Regions from separate parts of the Homo sapiens genome. Here regions 2 and 3 are each linked to region 1. The links are contacts of gene promoters, found by promoter capture Hi-C in blood cells and fetal thymus (Javierre and others, 2016). All regions are on one chromosome and are shown on one strand. The core of a region is centred on a gene start or on the middle of the fragment in contact, and the rest is flanking DNA. Distances in the headings are between cores, read along the strand shown. Region 1 holds the start of DSCC1 (DNA replication and sister chromatid cohesion 1). Region 2 overlaps LOC105375730 (a long non-coding RNA gene). Region 3 holds the start of ENPP2 (ectonucleotide pyrophosphatase/phosphodiesterase 2).

Region 1 (3,307 bases), core at 309-2,808:
GTTCTAGCAGTTTTCCTTGTCTGTAAAGCATTTAATTCTCCTGTGCACAACTCGTTTCTTTTGAATAAATAATAAGAAACCTGAAATAGCAGACTGTGTATTTATTTTTGACTAAGTCTTCATTTAAGTAAAAAGAATAAAAGGTTTTTTAGATTCCTAATGCTAATAATGCTTAATAGGCCCAAGTACCTAGTCTTTAACATTTATTTCTCTAACTGCACTACCCCCACTTTGAAATATTTTGTTTATACCATCACTCCCTACACCCCAAAATTAAAAACACACGTTTCCAGGGCCTGTTTTTATTTTTTTGTTTTTGTTTTGTTTTGTTTTTGCCAGCTAGATTAACTAGAACTGGACCGAGAGAAAGTCCTCACACCTGAGTTCCTTTCTCAACTCTCCACCAACTGAACCGGGATGGAAACAGACTAGTGAAGTTCTTTCAGTTCCCTTAAAGGTACTTTGAGGTATATAGCAGGTATCTGAAGAATGGCCAGTTTACTCTAACACTCTTTGGTGGGCAAAGTACGAAAACTGAAAGACAGCCTAAAGGATTCCATTAAGAAAAAAGAGAAAAAATAGCCTAATAAAATATAGGTGTCGGAGGACCAATTGTGCAAAAGAGAATCAAGCTGGAGCTCCCTATTTTGCAGGAGCTGGGGCTGCACAGGGTGGAGGGATATAACGATTCTCTAGACTTCTCAAGACTGCCTTTAAAAAACTACCTCAACTTCGACTTCTAATCAATGATCTTGCAGCAAGTTTGTATCTGACCTGGAATTAGAAACAGCTTCAGATCCCTACTAAGCAAGTTTGCTTCGGGGTGGGTAGGGGTCTCACCCAATTACCAAGTCTGTAAGCTGATTCCCAGCACTTCCTATCTATCATCTGAGTAAAATAAATATAAGTGGAAGGCAAGAGTTCTATAAACATTGGGTATCACCACTGTATTTTAAGGTAGAGTGACAGGTGTCCTGTAGAGTCCCTGTAATCACCGGTAACTCTTCAAAAACTTCACGGAGGTTGTATTAGTATTTCCTGACTTGCTCCCGCTGACACATGCCTCCAAGGTCAGCTGGACCAGTGCTACTCATCACCGCAGTGCAGCTAACTGGACGGCCCACCGGAGGCGTGGACTCCTCGGGAACAGGCAGCTTGCTATGAGCCCCCGGCCAGGTCAGTGCATCTCTCTGGCCCTGTTTTCTTATCCCGACTTTCCCCGCTGAGAAAATAACGTGGCCGGCCAGAGGCTGGGGGCGCCGCGTGACCAGGGCTCACCTGTGTCCATCCTCCAGCTGCTGGCACAGCGTGGGCTCCAGCTCCAGCAGGCAGAAGTCGCCGGCTGCAGCGCCGCTGGCCCCAGGGCCGAAGCCCAGGCAGTGCACCGCCGGCAGCAGCTCGGCCGCATTCAGCTTGGCGATCTGCAGCGTCGCATCCACCTCGTCGCGGGTCCTCTTCATCGCAGCGCCGGGTCTAGGAGTCCCGCCGCGCCCGGGTGGCTGCGGGCTTGGCGGGCAAGAAAGAAGTTCCCAAGCAGCCGGAAGGTAGGAAACCTGAGCGTTTGAAAGCGCGCCAAGGCGGCCATGGGCGTGTTTCCGGGGCGGAGCGCGCTGCGGGCCCGCCCGCGGGAAGGCCTGCCGGCTTCTGGGAGCGCGAGCCCCTCCGTGCCCCACGCCGGACCGCGACTGCAGGAAGGAAACGCGGCTTCCCGGGGGGCGGTCTCGGCGGAAGCTCGCAGGGGCAGAGCTGCGACTCGGCGGGTTGGGACACGGATCCCTCGCCCACCCTTTCCGCTGTCCCCTTGCCCGCCCCCCATCCCCGATCTCCGTCCCTGGTTTCCAGCCGATGCTCCCATTTCCTCGCCGTCCACATTGTCTCACCTTCCGCCAGTGGCGGGCCCTGTGATAACCACTTGGCATGTATAATTCCATGAGCCCGTTGCCACAACCCTGTAAGGTGGTGCCTTGGTCATTCCCTTTTGCCAATGAGGAAGCAGGCTCCTTGCTCGTGATGGCAGAGTCAGGAGGTAACAGAGTCTGACTCCAGCCTAGCCGACTGTGGCTCTAAAAGCTTCCTGCGGGGTTTTGTGCAAATAACCCATGCTCGGGAGCGAGGCCCTGGGAAGGAGTATCTCGCTTCTTTGGGTCAGGGCACCATCATATCTGGAGACAACGGCGGGACTAGTCTATTCGTTGAATACCTAGTGTTAACCGAAAAGTGACTGATGCAGGTCTCGTTCAATAGAGGTTTATTTAAGCAAGGTTGAGGACGCACCCGAAGGGAAAAACAAGTCACAGGAGCATCTGTGACTTGTACATTTTCCAAAGGTTTGGGGAACTTCAGTATTAAGAGTTTTAAGAGAAAAGGTTTTCACTATGCACACATACATGAATTGCTTGTAACAGCGTAATGTGTAAACTTTCCCAGAGATGCTTAGGGAATCGTTGAGGGCCCTGGCTGTCCCTGAGAGCTAAAATAGTCTGGGAGGAATCACTTAAGAGATGGTGACCTCCTACTAGTTAGTGCAAATCAGACCTTGCTTGAAGTGAAAGAAAGTGGTGGGTAAGGTGTTGAATTCAAAGGATCTGAGCAGACATTTTTTTCAATTCTTGGGTAAAATGATACGAAAATACCAGAGTAGGGCATCCCAGGAGTCTGGGCAGTGCTTTCGTTGGTGGTGGAAAGATTGGTTCATGTGACCTACTTCTTCACTAGCCTCTTTTACATTTGAATGCATAGGAATTCGGTGGAATGAAATCCTGAATGTGACAGTGGTTGCCTGATAAGAAGTTATTATTGAAGGGAATCAACCATTGTAGTTGCTCTATTAAATGGGAAACATTCCCTACAACTAGAAGCAGTGTCAACTAGAACCCTGACATTTACATCAGACAGGCATGGCTGCGAATCCCAACTCTCTTCAGAACTTTGTGACCTAAGGCAATTTACCTAATTTCTCTGAGTACAACTTCCTTATCGATAAAAAAGCACATAAGACCTACATTCTTAAGATGTACATTCTAAAATGCATGGCTGCTTAATAAATGGCAGCAGTTCTTTTTGTTTTTATGTATTAATCATTATGAATTTAATTTCCAATTAATGGTATGAAATTATTGCCATTAATTTGATATTCTGTCAGGGAGCTGGACCTGTGTTCCTCTCATAAGACAAAATGATGATAGTTTTTATTAATTCATTCTTTAAAATTATGTTAATATGTTTTTCTAAAGTAAGAAATTTTCTGTACCTTTTCAAAAAACGATTGAAGCTGGCTTAATCATTCATCTGGTAGCAGGAAAAAAAT
Region 2 (3,307 bases), core at 309-2,808, 230 kb after region 1:
GAAGAGGTAGCTGATCTTTCTATGAACAGTTACTATGTGTCATCCAATTTATAAACATTCTCTTAACTAGTCTTCCTAACAATCCTGTAAATTAAGGACTACCATTACGGCTATTTAAGAGACCCTGAAACTAGTGCTCAAAGGCTTTTGTAATTCTCCCAAGCTTACACAGTTATTAAGTGGTGGCGCAGAAATTCAAATTAGGTTATGTGATACCCAACACTACGTGCTTTATTCTCACTCTTTAGGGTAGTGCCCCGGCCTGGAGAGGCCACAGTGCAGGTGTCAGGAGGGTGCCATTAGAAGGGCCGTGTCTGTGCGTGGAACACATGGCCACCCATGCCTGCGCCACAGTGGGCAATGGAAACTCAATTCCAACCCTTCCATTAAAGCTCTTATCTAGTTACCCCTGTCTCTCGTAGGATAGGTTGTTTTACTGCAGGAAAATAATCTCAGTGGCTTAAAACATCAGAAGTTTATTTCTTTTTAACACACATTCAAATCAACCATCAGCTGGGAAGCGCTGTTCTGAGTCGCCCCTTCTCAGGCTGATGGACCAACCGCTAGATGGAGCAACACTGGTCATCGCAACAAAAAGAAAACCCTAGAAACTGGACTGTGCTTTACACAGCTTGTAGCCACCTGCAGTTACTTAGATTTGATTCAAAAGTAATTAAAATCAAAGAAAATGGAAATTTCAGTCCCTTCTTTGCACAAGCTGCATTTCAAGTGCCTGATAATTTTTTCCACTTGTGGCTACTGGCTACTATATTTTGTAGTGTGGATTATGGAACATTCCCATCATCACGTTGGTCTTGACCTATCTGGTCTCTCACACTGTCCTGACTCAGAAATAACACATGTTTACTTCCACTCAGAATTCACTGGCCAAAATTGAGGGATTGAGAGGCTGACATTTTTGAAAGACTGTCCTAAAACTGAAGATAACAGAAGTTAAAGAAAACATAAACATAAAAACATTCTTTTTAAAAATTATTTTTCTGACCTAGTGGTATAACTTGTTTCTTTCCTCTACTCTCTCTTTTGCTAGTGAAATCCTACAGGGCTGGCAGAAATTTATAGATGCGTTGCCCCTAAGAAACCTTTACATGATTCAAACTGTCATACTTGCTCTTGTCATTGTGCATGTAGAGCTAGACTGACTGAGTTTTGAATCCTAATTCCTAACATGAAGTAGCTTTAAATTAAGGTTTTGCTCAAGCAACTTAACCTTTCTGAACCCCAGTTTTTTTTTTTAGTAAAATGAATCTAATAAAAATATTTCTCACATATTTACTTTAACCTTATATATAAAATTAGAATACCTGGCTGTATCAGGCAGCCAGTAACTAACTGTTAGCTACTATTGCTGTTATCACAAAGAAATTTATTTCCTTGTCCATTCATTCCAAGTCAAAGAGTTCTATCTCTGCTGGGCCAAATAAGGCCATTTTACTATGTCTTAATGATACATCATTTTACACCTATTCATTATGTATGTATATATATTTGATTACATATATAATTGATTTTTAATAATATGTAGCATTCCACTGTGAGACCGAGATACATTTATTTAATTTCATTTCATATTTATTTCATTATAATTGGCAATTATTAAGAAGCCCGACAAAACCGACCTTTAGAAAGATGTTATCATCAAAATCTCTTACATCTCTTATAAATTGCTGGAGGAAGAATAAATTGGCACAATCACACTGGAAAGGAGTTTGGCAGTATCTCATGAGGTTGAATATTCCTAACCCCTATGAACCAGCATTCCCATTCCTGTACTGGCATCACTATTCACAAGAAAAAAAAAGGACAACAATCTGAAACCCATTGCTTAGATAATGAGAACATAGATGCAATTCAGTCCCACAAATAATGCTATGTATCATTGAAAATCAATTATAACTACATGTATTGATAGGAATAAATCCTTCAATATTGAATTAAAAAATGAGTTCAAAATAACTAAAACTAAAAATACAGCATGTATATGTATCTACTTATGTATATGTGTATGTATATTTATGTACATATCCATGAGTGTAGATATATATTTGTAATTTATTATCAGTATTCTAGTTCTCAGCTTGGTGATAAGTTCACAGGTATCATTTTATCATATTACATCATAGTAAGAAAAAGTGAGGCCGGGCGTGGTGGCTCACACCTGTAATCCCAACATTTTGGGAGGCTGAGGCAGGTGGATCACTTTAGGTCAGGAGTTCGAGACCAACCTGGCCTACATGGTGAAACCCCATCTCTACTAAAAATACAAAATTAGCCAGGTGTTGTGACACACACCTGTAATCGCAGCTACTCTGAAGAAGGTGGGAGAATCACTTGAACCCCGGACGAGGAGGTTGCAGTGAGCCAAGACCACACCACTGCACTCCAGCCTGGGTGACAGAGCGAGACTCCCCCTCAAAAAAAAAAAAAAAAAAGAAAAGAAAAAAGTGAACATGTACGGAACAATGATAGTAGTGTGTCATGAACTAAGGGTTGAGACGAGTCCAGTGAGAGCACTTGAGGTGCACTGAGCCCCAGACCTTTCACGCTTTCTTACTACTATCCTCAGTCACCTCTAATTTTCTCTCTCCTAGTGGTACCTCACCTCGGCCAGGTTGGTCTTCCATTTTGAGACTGGGATGAAACACCACAAAACAGGGCAGGTGATATGGTTTGGATGTTTTGTCCCCTCCAAATGTCATGTTGAAATGTGACATCCAATGTTGGAGGGGAGCCTGGTGAGAGGTGTTTGGGTCATGGGGGCGGGTTCCTCATGAATGTCTTGGTGTGGTCCTCGCAATAATGAGGTGAGTTCTCACTCCATGAGTTCATGTGAGATCTGATTGTTTAAGAGAGCCTGGCAGCTCCTCCCTCTCTCTTGCTCTCTCTCTTGCCATGTGACACTCTGGTTCCCCTTTCACCTTCCACCATGATTGTAAGCTTCCTGAGACCCTCACCAGAAGCAGATGCTAGCACCATGCTGCCTGTACAGCCTGCAGAACCATAAGCCAAAATAAATGTTTTTTCCTTTATAAATTGCCTGGTCTCAGCTATTCCTTTATAGTAACACAAACGGACTAATCCAGCAGGGCTCTGACTTCCTCAGCAACTGCCAAGGGGTTAGACACAACACAGAAGTACAGAGGAGTTAGCTTCTTACAGAGTGAAACATAACCAATGGGAAAAAAAAGAGAGAGATAGAGTAGTAGAGTGAGTAGATTTCCTCACCATTCTCTCTTCCGTAGGCTACTCCGAGATGCAGTTCCTCCTGGCAACCCTTCTAGAGAGG
Region 3 (3,307 bases), core at 521-3,020, 220 kb before region 1:
TTCAATCTCAGTTTTAGCCAGAGTAATATATTAAGAGGAAACAGAAAAAAAAAGTTCCCTTTAGTGTTCATTGAAAAGAACCAGCAGTTGGCTCTCAAGTTGCTAGCTTTCCCACATGACCATGCTAAGGATCTGATTCCCCTGTCTGTTCAGTCACAGTCAGTGTTAATGGGAGTGAAAAAGAGGCCTTTGAAGAGAGCATTTGCTGCAAATAAAAACAGCATTCTCTAGCTCAGTGATCCACTGTCCTCTGCCTCCCCAACAGAAGACGACTCATTTTGTCCATTTGGCTCCCTGGGGCTGCAAGTTTTGTGATCTATTTTCTCACTCTTAACCCCGCCACACCCCACTTCAATTCACTAATTCACTTCTAATATTATTCTTTCAACCTACTGGCATGATTCAAAAGTAACTTAATTGATGTAAGGAAGATTTAGTATTCCATCAATGTATGTGTCCTAACCCGGTTGATAATAAAATTTCAAGCTGGCTAAACAGAGGCAAGTGATGGTCTTTCATAACAATCAGATCAAGACATACAGAGAAACACAAAATTCACAGGAAGACAGACAAACATGCTGGAATGTCAGGAAAAGTCCAGAAAATATTGTTCCCTAGAGTGCCCATTACTTAAAATGTAATTTTTTATTTCTAAAACCATCAGCAGCTCCAATTTCCAGGAAATTAACCAACTCATTGCTTAAGACCTGGTCAGTTAAGCCCCCTCTGTCTGCACAAGGAGCTCCTTTATAAGAACACTGTATGGGAACACTACTTATGGTGTAGTGTATTGTAAAAAGAAACTCTTTCACTTTGGTTCTATTATTTAAGTCAAGGTACACTATTAAAACTTACCTTTCCTTTGCCATAAGGACACACAATGAGGACAAATCAATCCTGAAAACTCTTTAAACACCTCCTCTCTTTTATGTTTTTCCAATTTTAAGTAAATCTTAAAGTCCTAAATTTCTGAAGTTTCATAAAGATAGCTCACTGCCTTTTTTACTTCCATTCCTTTTTCCTACATCAGAACTTTCTAGTGGCAAATACTACATCCTATATCATGTGACAGCAAATCAGATTTGGGTAGCTCCAATATTAAACCAACACCTGTTCTCACCACTTCTACTTTAGCCTTGTCTGTGAACAAGAGTTTTAATTGTATCCTAACATTTACAAATTTGAGTACAAAAATGGAAATAGCCAGTTATGAAACAATCATAAATGTTCTCTAATGAAAACCACACTCTCCCACCTGAATTATACACATAGGTGGTTTTACCCAGAGAAATTTAGGACTAACTTAGTTATACTGCAAGATTGTATTAAAAATAAATATTTTAATAAGCTTACATTGATTACCCCGTATGTAATATTTTTAAAAAATTGAAAATGCAAATAGTTTTGACACTTACCTGTAGGAGGACCTTCCTCCCATCCTTCTGCTCTCTTAATTCGATGTGCAGTGAATCCTAAGCAGATATTGACTCCAACGGCAAAAGTGAACAGGGATATTATCTAAGAGAATAAAGAGACCAAGTTGTCAAATACAGCTGGAGAAGACTAAATCAAATTACACAAAGGTGATTCAAATGGCTTCAATATCAACACCCAATCCTACCACTTCCAAAATGCATAATAAGGTGCTATCTTAATTTGCACAACAAAAAGGAAAATGCCAATCAGTCACTGATTCTGAAGATCAAGCATGTCCCCCGTCATTCCTCCGTTCTCCCACCTGACACGACTGGAACGAGCTCCTCCTTGCCATGTCGAGGATTCTTGGAAAGCCTTTTGCAGCGTGTTCTCTTTGCCTTCACGGAGTGCACTGCTTTGAGGCTCTGGGTTTAGTCTATTAACTATAAGCAATCCCACCTGGGAGGTTGACAGACTCCTCTGATTTGTCCAGAGCTTGATTACATCACAGGGTGTTCACAAATCGCAGCTCTGAGCCTAAGAGGCTTAAGCTATCATCCCCCTTATCCCCGCCCCCTTACAGGTCCCTCCCCTAACCCACAGACACTTTCATGTGGTATCCTCTGGCAACAGGAGGGTTTGTTACATTGCCGTGGCCCATAACAGTGCATGTTCATTTTCCTTTCCTCACAAAAACATGGTTTGTCAAAAAGAAACCAAATGCATTTCATCCGATAAAAATGAAAACAGGGCTGTGCAAGGGCTTTCCACCAGCTTTAAGCTTTTAAGGTTTACAATGCAGTCATTCAATGGCGTCAACCTCACCACTTTATTTTTTTAAGCAAGGAAAGTTTTATCATTTATAAACCTAATAACGTTCCTGTCTTTCCCATCTATTTATTTTGCTGGCAGTTTGAGCGACCCTGTCCCTAGTATCACATTCTCAGCTACTTCTGCCTCCTTGAAAGTTTCTCATGATGAAATTTCGCAAAATTGTAACTAACATAAAAGATAACATTATTTTCCCCATGCTGTGGTTCAAGTTTAGAGAAGTAACTTTTATCAAAATACTGGAAATGCCAGCCACGCAGCATAAAGTCCTTCTGCCCTGGGAGGACGGACAAAATAACTTCAGTCTCTGCCTCTTCTTCCCGTAAAGACTGTCAGCTTGTTTCGGGCGGGGCGGAGGAGGGGGCGGTTTTTGAGAGGCAGATGGGTGGGGGAAGGGGATGGCATGGGAAGCTTTATTAGCAATTGAATTTAGGAAGGAAATCTCAATGGCAGCAAGAATTGAAATGTCAAGAATTGTTTCCCTAGTTATTTCTTGGTTAAATGTAGCCACCAAATACTGTGTCCTTTGAGGCTATTGTGGGTACTAAAGTTTCTTTACTAAGCAATTTGGCAACCAGCACACTTTCAAAAGAAAAAATCAAGGGCTCTAAATCTGAAAGTTGTTTAAATATTACATGCCTTCAGGATTCAAATGAGGGAAAAAGATTTGTTTTTGGCCTCTTCCTCAGCAGGTCCAGTGACCATCTTTTCTTCCGCAGCACATGTGTTCGTGCGTAAACAAATACGAGACTTACCATGCAACAAATTAGTAACAGAGTAGTGGCTCTGCTCAAATAAAACATGATAGCACAAAAGCAAAAACTTGTTTATAGGGGGTTGTACAGTAGGCCTGGGTTTCATTACAGATTCTTAGAATCTAGTAATATCTAATTGAAAAAAAGAAAATACACATACTGCCAAACTGTTAATTGCCTTTCTAAAATCCTTTTAGTTTTGCACTGTTGCAAAGAGGACAGGCTTATACATTTTTATATGTAAGCCTCTTGCTTTTGTCTGTATGCCATACTGAACAAATTTGGAGTAGGGTATTTAGCAAGGC

The links. The method cuts DNA at HindIII sites, captures the fragments that hold promoters and counts their contacts. A CHiCAGO score of 5 or more calls a contact.
Region 2: a contact is called between a fragment that was not itself captured here and the fragment with the promoter of DSCC1 in region 1, in 14 of 17 cell types (monocytes, fetal thymus, activated CD4 T cells and 11 more). The highest score is 15.0, in monocytes.
Region 3: a fragment that was not itself captured here is called in contact with the fragment with the promoter of DSCC1 in region 1 in 1 of 17 cell types (fetal thymus); the score reaches 6.9 in fetal thymus.

What each region holds. Positions count from the first base shown.
Region 1 is chr8:119,854,336-119,857,642 of GRCh38, forward strand. DSCC1 (DNA replication and sister chromatid cohesion 1) reads right to left here and starts at 1,559. Exons shown (of 9, transcript NM_024094.3): 1 at 1,279-1,559. The coding sequence starts at 1,460. It overlaps LOC105375728 (a long non-coding RNA gene), which reads left to right. Exons shown (of 4, transcript XR_928590.3): 2 at 340-467; 3 at 1,071-1,544. RefSeq lists an enhancer at 1,231-1,540 and a silencer at 1,651-1,710. The HindIII fragment of the contact is 2,867 bases long and covers 1-2,068 here.
Region 2 is chr8:120,088,887-120,092,193 of GRCh38, forward strand. The region is part of intron 1 of LOC105375730 (a long non-coding RNA gene); the gene reads left to right. Among named protein-coding and RNA genes, the nearest start is that of COL14A1, 35 kb to the right of the region's middle. The HindIII fragment of the contact is 2,795 bases long and covers 162-2,956 here.
Region 3 is chr8:119,637,010-119,640,316 of GRCh38, forward strand. ENPP2 (ectonucleotide pyrophosphatase/phosphodiesterase 2) reads right to left here and starts at 1,830. Exons shown (of 25, transcript NM_001040092.3): 1 at 1,739-1,830; 2 at 1,416-1,518. The coding sequence starts at 1,771. RefSeq lists a silencer at 1,946-2,045. The HindIII fragment of the contact is 849 bases long and covers 1,347-2,195 here.